4 separate regions of the Homo sapiens genome follow, and regions 2, 3 and 4 are each linked to region 1. The links are contacts of gene promoters, found by promoter capture Hi-C in blood cells and fetal thymus (Javierre and others, 2016). All regions are on one chromosome and are shown on one strand. The core of a region is centred on a gene start or on the middle of the fragment in contact, and the rest is flanking DNA. Distances in the headings are between cores, read along the strand shown.

What was found. Contacts are between HindIII fragments. The CHiCAGO score rates a contact against its expected background, and 5 or more counts as called.
Region 2: a fragment that was not itself captured here is called in contact with the fragment with the promoter of REG4 in region 1 in 3 of 17 cell types (M1 macrophages, M0 macrophages and M2 macrophages); the score reaches 8.7 in M1 macrophages.
Region 3: a contact is called between a fragment that was not itself captured here and the fragment with the promoter of REG4 in region 1, in 5 of 17 cell types (M0 macrophages, M2 macrophages, megakaryocytes and 2 more). The highest score is 13.7, in M0 macrophages.
Region 4: a contact is called between a fragment that was not itself captured here and the fragment with the promoter of REG4 in region 1, in 1 of 17 cell types (M0 macrophages). The highest score is 5.3, in M0 macrophages.

What each region holds. Positions count from the first base shown.
Region 1 is chr1:119,810,032-119,812,746 of GRCh38, forward strand. It overlaps REG4 (regenerating family member 4), which reads right to left and starts at 1,429. Exons shown (of 6, transcript NM_032044.4): 1 at 1,378-1,429. The HindIII fragment of the contact is 5,277 bases long and covers 469-2,715 here.
Region 2 is chr1:119,726,832-119,729,531 of GRCh38, forward strand. It overlaps PHGDH (phosphoglycerate dehydrogenase), which reads left to right. Exons shown (of 12, transcript NM_006623.4): 4 at 20-74; 5 at 173-271. Among named protein-coding and RNA genes, the nearest start is that of PHGDH, 16 kb to the left of the region's middle. The HindIII fragment of the contact is 1,797 bases long and covers 353-2,149 here.
Region 3 is chr1:119,927,294-119,929,993 of GRCh38, forward strand. NOTCH2 (notch receptor 2) reads right to left here. Exons shown (of 34, transcript NM_024408.4): 23 at 1,683-1,919. Among named protein-coding and RNA genes, the nearest start is that of ADAM30, 32 kb to the left of the region's middle. The HindIII fragment of the contact is 484 bases long and covers 1,103-1,586 here.
Region 4 is chr1:119,704,319-119,707,018 of GRCh38, forward strand. The region is part of intron 1 of LOC105378937 (a long non-coding RNA gene); the gene reads right to left. Among named protein-coding and RNA genes, the nearest start is that of PHGDH, 6.3 kb to the right of the region's middle. The HindIII fragment of the contact is 4,943 bases long and covers 1-2,700 here.

The DNA of each region.
Region 1 (2,715 bases), core at 179-2,678:
TTGTGAGATCTTTTTTGTATGTTTATTGCCTTTCACGTGTTACTAATAGTATTTCTCAGTTTGTATTTTTCTCTTACTTATTATAATTTTTGCCATTCTGAAATTTTCAAAAATATTGTTATTTTTTATGTTTTTAAAAATAATTTTTAAATTTATATCAAAAGACTGGCCATTACTGTCACATAAGGTTAAAATATTTATCACTGTTCTATTTTCATCTGTCTGGGCTTTGTTTTAACATAAGTATGAAACTGAGTTCTGGATTTCCCTCCCAAATAATTCTTAAAATGAGTTAATTCATTGAATTCACATTTAATCATACTTTATGATTAAAAAATCTGAATATACAATCTAACTCTCAAATAATGGATTGCTTAAAGAGAATAATGTAAATGATGACTTTTCTGGAAAATCAATTCTGGGGTCCATCTGAACACTTTAAGGCAACATTAACTGAGAATGAGACAAAGCTTGGAGAGTGTGGATGTGACCTTCCCCACCCCTTACTTCTTTTTAAATCATTGCGTGAACCTTGCACTTTGCTAAACTTTCCTTCCAAAAGTAATAGTGTATTTTCAATGTCCTCAAACCCCTTTAAAACGCAAACAGAATTTCTCTGTCAAGGTGACCATCTGGGGGAAGGGAGAGGCAGCATCTTTTTTACTAATCTGTGAATAATTTTTAGTGAACTGATATTCATTGAATGTCTGCATGTCATGTTCATAAGTAAGCTGCACTGGGCCGGGTGTGGTGGCTCATGGCTGAAATCCCAGCACTTTGAGAGGCTGAGGCAGGTGGATCACCTGAGGTCAGGAGTTCAAGACCAGCCTGGCCAACATGGCACAACCCTGTCTCTATTAAAAAATACAAAAATTAGCTGGGCGTGGTGGCAAGTGCCTGTAATCACAGCTACTCAGGAGGCTGAGGCAGGAGAATCACTTGAACCTGGGAGGCAGAAGTTGCAGTGAGCCAAGATTGCACCATTGCTCTCCAGCCTGGGAGACAGAGCAAGACTCCATAAAAAAACAAAAACAAAAACAAAAACAGAAACAAAAACAAAAAACCTGCACTGTAGATCTCATGAATGCATGTTACAAATGAAGACACTGACACTTATGATTGAGTAACTTTTCTAAAGTTTCCCAGCTACCAGACTGCAGAGCCAAGATTTAACCCAACAGCTTGACACCAAAGCCAATGCTCTTTGCAGTGAAGGAAGAAAAGAAGGTAAATAATTTAAATCAAACAACACAGCAACAGAAAGCCTGACAAGCCTCACTAGAAATACAATTTGTCATTTCTGGCCTGGCTAATAGCTGACAGAGGAAAACAGATGTTTAAAGAAAGTCCCCCATCATCAACCGCGAGGAGGATTACCTGTTTGGCAACCAAGACTCTAAGGGCCCCTGCCTTCTTCAGTGTCTCCAGTGGTCCCAGTCAACGTTTCTGGAGCTTTTATATCTTCTTGCCTCAGGAATTAATAATCTTTACTTTAGTCACAAAGCGATAATATTATTTGAGAAAAACAATCCATCCATAAAAGTCTTATCTACAGTGAAAAAAATGAATCATATAAGAGACGGCTTCAGAATGTACGTAAGGTGTGCTTTGACTAGCCAGGAAAAGAACCTCTCCCTGTGTGCAAACAGAATCTTTTCTTCACATCACGTTATTAAAACTGACAACATCCTGTAATCTGTTATAAGCCCATCTTCCTCTCCCCTTATGTTACTTTTTCATGGCTGTCTTTTTATGCCTTGGTATGGTGGATTTCCTTTATTTCTCTTTTATTTCTAGAAGGATTTTCTGTCAGGGTCAGGAATAGGTTATGACCCATGCGGTGAGACTTGAGACCCACACACAGATTTTCCTTCCTAAAGCACCGACTCCACTCCTTCAACATGCGTGAGTTTCCTCAGAGATCTACTATTTGAGCTTCTCCCGCAGAACATGGATGATCATGTCAAAATAGCTTACATCAACAGAGTGTGTTACAATAACGGGTTTTCAGTGAAGTCATCAAATAAGATGCCAACAAAATCCTTGTGAGCAGCATAGGACACATATCCCCATTACACACTCAAGAAACCCAACCTTAAGAGAGATTAGAAACCTTCCGAGGTTCACAACACTGGTCAGCAGTGGACCTGGACACTGAACCTTGTCCTTCTGACTCCAAATATAGGTGTTTGCCAAAATACAGTTCTACTGAAAAATAGGCTATTTGAAAAGAGTAACAAGATTTTCTTTTCCAGTATAGATGGCAAAGGGTTAGGTTGTAGGTGCCAGAGATGACTCAACTTTAAACTACAGATTTAAGTCTGTAAAGGACCTTTATGTCTGGAAACTTTAAGTCTGGAAGGGACCATAGTAGTTATCAAATCTTACTCTTTTGTTCTACTGGTGAGGAAATTGAGGCCTAGAGAAACATTGTGACTAGTTTAATGCACAGACAGTTGTGGGTGAAGCTGATATCAGAAGCCAGCTTCCTTGCTCCCAGCTCACTGTTGTTTGGAAAATGCTACTCAACCTTTGTTATTAGATTTTTGCATCAGTTGTGTAAATTCATGGTAGGACATGAGAAAGTAATGCTTTCATGGTTCACAAAGAACATTTTAAAGAATCTCTCCCATCAGAATGTTTGACACAAACCTCTTTCTCTTTAGGCAGCTGGATGGGAATCATCATTGCTTCATGGCACAATGGCGTACAAAG
Region 2 (2,700 bases), core at 1-2,500, 83 kb before region 1:
CCTGTGTCTATCCTTGCAGGCAGATTCCCCAGGCGACGGCTTCGATGAAGGACGGCAAATGGGAGCGGAAGAAGGTGAGCAGCGGCCTTGACTCGCCCCACCTGGGCTCAGGGCCCGGGGTCCACTCATGTTGCTGACTTCAGCTTCTTTCCTTTTGCCTGTTTGGTTGCAGTTCATGGGAACAGAGCTGAATGGAAAGACCCTGGGAATTCTTGGCCTGGGCAGGATTGGGAGAGAGGTAGCTACCCGGATGCAGTCCTTTGGGATGAAGGTAAGATGTTGCTGGAACCCTGTGATGTGGGACTTTCTGCAGCAATTTTGGGAAAGGCAGCATGTCTGGGCAGAAGCCAGAAGCTTTGTTCTAGGAGGGTCTGACCCTCTCTTGGAGCCCCCATCTAAATAAGTGTTAAAGTCAAGGAGGGAGAGAACACTGGCCTGCTGATCTGGACTCAAAAGCTGGAAATACTTGGTGGGGGTCCTTTAGCTCTCTGGTGAGTGAATAGCCCTGAGTCCCAGTGAACCAGGTGTTGATGGCTCTTTTGAGACTTTGGTTCCTGTCTTCTTAGTTTAAAAGAATTTAAACAAGAGACACGGTGCAGCATTGAGGAGTTTATTGCAAAGGAAAAAGAATATTTTGAAAGTTAAGTGCAGAGTAGACAGTACACCTCGGGAGAGAGAGAATTCAGGGTGGGCTGCTCATAAGAGTGAGGCAGTGTTGGCCGGGCGCGGTGGCTCACGCCTGTAATCCAGCACTTTGGGAGGCCGAGGCAGGCAGATCATGAGGTCAGGAGATCAAGACCATCCTGGATAACATGGTGAAACCGCATCGCTACTAAAAAAAAAAAAAAAAAAATTAGCCGGGCGTGGTGGCGGGCGCCTGTAGTCCCAGCTACTTGGGAGGCTGAGGCAGGAGAATGGCGTGAACCCGGGAGGCGGAGCTTGCAGTGAGCCGAGATCATGCCACTGCACTCCAGCCTGGGCGACAGAGCGAGACTCCGTCTTAAAAAACAGAAACAAAAACAAAAACGAATGAGGCAGTGTTGATTATTGCTGGAGAAACTCCCTTTATAGGAGTTTTACATGATTATTCATAAGGAGGTGGGAAGAGCTGTTACTAGTAAGCATGTTTTGGGTGGTCCTCTGGGTGCACATGAGTAGTAGCTGTACATTCTTGTTCATTTGGCACATGTCTTATTAGCATCTTAAATCTCCACCCAGGAGTGTGTTTTTTACTATTATAATGAGCCAGGGGGTCAGTTTGAGGACAGGAAAAATCAAAGTGCACAGGCTGTCTAGATGGGAAGTTCCCTACTGAAGATAGCTTTGCTTGAATGAGCTCAGTTAGAATATGAATACCGAGGCTTATTGTGTTGACTATAGGATCACCAAGGTTGCTGCACTTCCTTGATTACCTATCCTGCCTCACAGGGAGGGTGCTTGTGTCCTGCCCATTCTTTCTTTCCTTCCTGCTTTTGTTTTGTCTGCTTTCCTGTGATAATTTAGAAAACAGGAACAAGTTTATGGCCTCACAGTAGAGCCTTACATCCATTGTCCATCTGTCCTTCCAGTTTCCCTCCATATTTCAGAAAAGATTTAAAAGTGCTTGTATGTACACTATGATATGATTGTAGAGCCTATGGTGGCTGGAAGACCTCACACCGGTCTCAGAAATCACACCTAACTCCTGTCTTCCCCCAGGTCTCTGCCTTTTCCTACTCTGGGAGCTCAGTAGGCTTCTGGCTACTCCCTTAGCCTGATTGCAACCCTCTGGTTGCCATCAGTAGCAGTGCCACCCACTTGGGCTAATCCAGGAGACCTTGCAAATGAGAGAGGCAATTCAGCTAAGAGAGGGGATCTGCAGGGCTTCCCAGATAGGCCAAAGAGATGAACCCACTAAGGCTACTATGGGACATCTCTCTGTTCACTTTCTGTTTTAGGGAATTACAGGGATTATGGGGTCAAACTGCAGCCAGGAAGTCTTTAAACATTAGGAGATCAGTTTTGACAACCAGATCATGTCAAATCTAGAAAAGTTTACATAGAGCTGCTATGGAACTCTCCCTTTTTCTACATCCCTCCTACCTTCTTAGAGTTAGAAGGGATCTTAATAGATTAACCCTTAATTTTACATTGACATCTAGAATTTGTAAGCTTATGCCTAAGGACTCATAGCAAATGGACAGTAGCCTAGAGCCTGGTGAGCATCCCATTGTACACATTGAATATTATCCTCTCCCTCCTGCCTCCACTCCCCATCTTATTTATTTAAGTCAGCCAGATATCTTTCCTAAGCCTCTGCACTGAGAAGGGCCAGGTGTATTCTTGATCCCTGGACTCCTGAGAGAGGCAGATGTAGCCCAGCAGGATCATTGATCATGTAAACAAACCACAGCCTTGCCCTCTGTGCAGGGATGGTGGGATGCCATAAGCCACAAAGAGCACTCCCTCCTCCATCCTCTTTTGTAAGGGATCAAGGGTCAAGGTTTAGTCCATGGAGAATTTTGATATAAAAGGCAGAGGTCAGGAGTTAAGTAAAACTAAGAGCACTCATAGCCAAATAGGTGAGCATTTCATTGATGAAGCAGTAACTGGGAGACAGGCTCCAGACCAGTGGCCGTTCCAAGGCTCCTGCCCCCTTCCCCAGGGGGTCCTCTTCCCCATGACTCCCCTTCCCCAGGCTTCCTTCTCCGTGGCACCACT
Region 3 (2,700 bases), core at 95-2,594, 120 kb after region 1:
GGTGGTCACTTGGGAAAGAAGAGGTAGCTTTAAAAATGAAATAAAAATAGTAATGTTTTTGGCCAACGAGATCAAGCAGCAAGAGGTATAAATGTTTGTCTCTTCAAATCACAGCAGCAGCCGCTAACCAAGAGCAGCCACCACATGGACACAGCTTGGTGGACCACCAGTCCCTTGCTGTTTATCTCTGCAACAGCATCCCACAATAACTGTGCTCAATGTATTCAAGGGATTTTTTTTTTTTCATTCACAAATGTGGAAAATGCACAAACACTACTTCCTGGCTGTGGGATACTACTTCAAAGTGGTCTCCATTCCTTCCTTCTCCTGCTTCCCCCTTACTTTGCAAATGCTTGTGTTTCCAGAGAAAAAAGCCTCAGGGGCAATGAAAGAAACAGGAGCCAGTTTTGATGCTTTGGCTTTCAAAGTGCAGTTTGGCCAATACGAGGCTGTAGACAGATTATTCATACTTATTCTGTTCCACATTGCCTCAATAGCTATTATGTTCACAATGGACTATTTCTTTTTTGATGTTAGTGTATCCAGGGAGCTTCCATATTGCAGAATCCCTCCCATTCTTTACAAAATTCCAAGATTGTAAGGTAGCATATCTTTAAAGTTGGAAGGAAAGATGGCTGGAGATGGGCTCAGGATGTAGCAGAGTTCAGCTTGATGAATTGTTTGTAAACAGACTATTAAAGCCTATTTTCTGACTCCTAAGGAATCTGATCACACCCTCCATATAAGAAATACAACTACAGACCCCAGGAAATGCATGATAAATTTCAAATCTGAGTATCCTGCCACATCTGGATACAAACAACTATTTTAGTTCCCAAAAGTCACCATGCTGCCCTCTCCAGAAGTAACTAGTAAGTTCTTGTGATAAGACCCCTATTCTGAGGCAGAGCTTGGTCATCTTCAGGCCCTGTGATGAAAGAAAGAAGCTTGGGAACAGAGTAGGAACATGGCCAAGCCTTTACTGGGCAAGGCATTACTTGTGACCACTGCAACTTTTCATTTCATACCCACATCAACTGATCTTTGGTTAAACACACTTGAATTTGGACCTGCCCCCTTTAAGTATCTAAGCAGGGTCCTAAGCTTCTCTGAGTCCTAGGGGTGGAAAGATCATGGTGGCAGGAACTACCCAGTAATTCAAGCCATCACATGTCAAAGGAGGCAGGGTGAAGAAACCGGAGTTAGACGTAAGGTTCCTTAAAACAAAATGTTATTTTGTTCAGATGAAAAGAGTTCTGTGAATGAATGGGGGTGATAGTAGAACAACAATGTCAATGTACTAAACAATGCCACTGAACTGTACACTGTACACTTTAAAATGATTCAGATAGTAAATTTTAGGTTTTGGATATTTTGCCACTATTAAAAAATGTTATTTTGTTCAACTACTTTCAATATACATTGTAAAAAATATTCCTGCCATAGCATGATATAATCAATGCACAACAAAAGAATCTCTTAGGAAAAATTAAAGGTAGACACTGATCATAACATCCATAAAGTACAGACTAAGAAAAAACTGGCTTTAAAAAATTAAGCTGCTGTTGTTTTTCTTATATAAGAAAAGCTTCACTTGGGTCTGGGACAACTCACAGGGCCCAATTTGTTCACTAAAACCATCCTCCAAGGCAGAGTGGCCAGGAGGCTAGAGAGCTTCTCACCAGTAAAGGCACTACGGCAAACACACAGGTAGTCATTGGTGAGCTGTATACAGTCCAGGCTGCCCTCAGAGCTGCAGGGGTTGGAGAGGCACTCGTTGATGTCTCCCTCACAACGCTCCCCAGCAAAGCCAGGCAAGCAGCGACAACTGTAGCCTCCAATCCTATCCATGCACTGACCACCATTAAGGCAATGGGGACCCCGGGCACAGTCATCAATGTTCTCTTCACAGAGTAGGCCTGGAGGAAAGAGAAGAGGTACAGAATTATGAAAATCCTTTTAACCTGCTTTCCAGCAAGGGATAACCACCCTTGTTGGCATTTTCACAATGAATCAGAGTATACTCCTCAACTGGTAGTGGGACCTTGTAGTTGGGCAGGGCAAAGCACACTCTTTATTCATGACAGCTGTCATCCTGGTGAGTTGTACAAGTAAAGGAAAGAACATACTAGGGCTCCGCATGTACTCTCCCACACAATCCAGTGAAGTAGCACCCTATGGTGTAGGTCCTATTATTTGTCCCATCTCAAAGAGAAGGAAACTGGAGCTCAAGAGAGGCTCAGTAATTTTTCCAAAGTATAATCCAAAATATAAAAACAGTCCAAAAAAGAACATAACAATAAATACAGTTATGCAACCGCATAATGACATTTTAGTCAATGCAGGCAGCACATACGACAGTGGTCCCATAATGAAGCTGAAGCTGACAAATTCCTGTTGCCTAGTAACATCATAGCCTTGTAATGTCATAGCACAATTACTTTTTAAATAAATTCAGTGTAGCTTAGGTGTACAGTATTTACAAAGTCTGCAGTAGTGTACAGTAATGTCCTAGGCCTTCACATTCACTTACCATTCACTGACTCACCCAGCAAGTTCCAGTCTTGCAAGCTCCTTTCATAGTAAATGCCCTATACAGGTGTACTATTTTTTATCTTTTATATTGTATTTTTACTGTACCTTTTAAATCTTCTACTGTACCTCTTCTTAAATATGTTCAGACACATAAATACTTACCAT
Region 4 (2,700 bases), core at 29-2,528, 110 kb before region 1:
CACCATGATCATCGTCATTGTGATAATGAAAACATGAAAACACTGTGAAATGTAGCTTCTGTGTTAAGGTAGAGTGCTCTGTAAAAAAACTTAGTATTAGTCCCCTCCTTATAATTAACCCATCAATTGTTTCTCATCTACTTAGAATTAAATCTAAACTTCTTCACCATGGTGGAGTAGTCAATGTTGGTGTTCCTTGCCTGTCCTCCAATCCCCATTTCCCTTCTTTCAGCTTCCTGAATTTTCCTCTGGGGACCCACTTTTCTTACAATTTTAGTGTATACTTCAGATAGATGAATTCTTTCCTCAGATCTGAAGTGGTTGCTTTATTCAGGACTGACAAATCTGCATATTCATCCTCCTGGGCACTGTGACTAATCCAAGGACAGATATGTGGCCCAGGGGGATCTGATAAGGATAAGGTCTGGACATTTTGTGGCAATTATTAGAAAACCAGTGCAACACGGTGAAACCCCGTCTCTACTAAAAATACAAAAATTAGCCGGGCATGGTGGCGCGCGCCTGTAGTCCCAGCTACACGGGAGGCTGAGGCAGGAGAATGGCGTGAACCCGGGAGGCGGAGCTTGCAGTGAGTCGAGATCGCGCCACTGCACTCCAGCCTGGGCGACAGAGCGAAACTCCGTCTCAAAAAAAAAAAAAAAAAAAGAAAACCAGTGCAATCTTTTAGGATTGCTAAACTGCTAGACTATGTGGCTGAATTTTATATTCTTTACTAACTTGTGACATTCTTGCCACATTTTGCCTTTCTGGAAATGAAGCAAGCCAGAGGAAAACAGACAGGTGAGAGAGACATGGATTGCCAGTGACACTATCTGAGCAAGTTTTTGTCCACACTTGATCTTTTTGGACAACTGAGCCAATACATTCCCTTTTTTCCTTGAACCAGTTTACACTGGGTTTCTGATACTTGCATCTCCCAAAGTCGAGACTATTCCCATGGTCTCAATGCTGTGGCCCCTGCTGATGTCTCCCACCTTGTCTTCTGCCATGTTCACCCACATTCTCTATATCATTGCTGTTCTGACCTTCTGTCAGTTCCTAGAAAAATCCATGTACTTTCCTACCCAAGGGACTTTGTTTTTATTATTCTCTTTCCTCTAAATGGTCTTCACTGGCTGTCTTCACCTTCAGATCTCTGCCTAAGTGTTACCGTCTCTGAGGCTTTTCTGACACAGACTACACACATAGCACATACATGCTCACACACTAGACTGCAAGTTCCCTATGGGCAGGTAATTTATAGATTCAATGCCATCCCCATCAAGTTACCAATGACTTTCTTCACAGAATTGGGAAAAAGTACTTTAAAGTTCATATGGAACCAAAAAAGAGCCCGCATTGCCAAGTCAATGCTAAGCCAAAAGAACAAAGCTGGAGGCATCACACTACCTGACTTCAAACTATGCTACAAGGCTACAGTAACCAAAACAGCATGGTACTGGTACCAAAACAGAGATATAGAGCAATGGAACAGAACAGGGCCCTCAGAAATAATGCCGCATATCTACAACTATCTGATCTTTGACAAACCTGACAAAAACAAGCAATGGGGAAAGGATTCCCTATTTAATAAATGGTGCTGGGAAAACTGGCTAGCCATATGTAGAAAGCTGAAACTGGATCCCTTCCTTACACCTTATACAAAAATTAATTCAAGATGGATTAAAGACTTAAACGTTAGACCTAAAACCATAAAAACCCGAGAGAAAACCTAGGCAATACCATTCAGGACATAGGCATGGGCAAGGACTTCCTGTCTAAAACACCAAAAGCAATGGCAACAAAAGCCAAAATTGACAAATGGGATCTAATGAAACTAAAGAGCTTCTGCACAGCAAAATAAACTACCATCAGAGTGAACAGGCAACCTACAGACTGGGAGAAAATTTTTGCAATCTACTCATCTGACAAAGGGCTAATATCTAGAATCTACAATGAACTCAAACAAATTTACAAGAAAAAAACAAACAAACCCATCAAAAAGTGGGCAAAGGATATGAACAGACACTTCTCAAAAGAAGACATTTATGCAGCCAAAAGACACATGAAAAAATGCTCATCATCACTGGCCATCAGAGAAATGCAAATCAAAAGCACAATGAGATACCATCTCACACCAGTTAGAATGGCGATCATTAAAAAGTCAGGACACAACAGGTGCTGGAGAGGATGTGGAGAAATAGGAACACTTTTACACTGTTGGTGGGACTGTAAACTAGTTCAACCATTGTGGAAGTCAGTGTGGCGATTCCTCAAGGATCTAGAACTAGAAATACCATTTGACCCAGCCATCCCATTACTGGATATACCCAAAGGATTATAAATCATGCTGCTATAAAGACACATGCACACGTATGTTTATTGCGGCACTATTCACAATAGCAAAGACTTGGAACCAACCCAAATGTCCAACAATGACAGCTGGATTAAGAAAATGTGGCACATATACACCATGGAATACTATGCAGCCATAAAAAATGATGAGTTCATGTCCTTTGTAGGGACATGGATGAAATTGGAAATCATCATTCTCAGTAAACTATCGCAAGGACAAAAAAACCAAACACCGCATGTTCCCACTCATAGGTGGGAATTGAACAATGAGAACACATGGACACAGGAAGGGGAACATCGCACACCGGGACCTTTTGTGGGGTGGGGGGAGGTGGGGAGGGATAG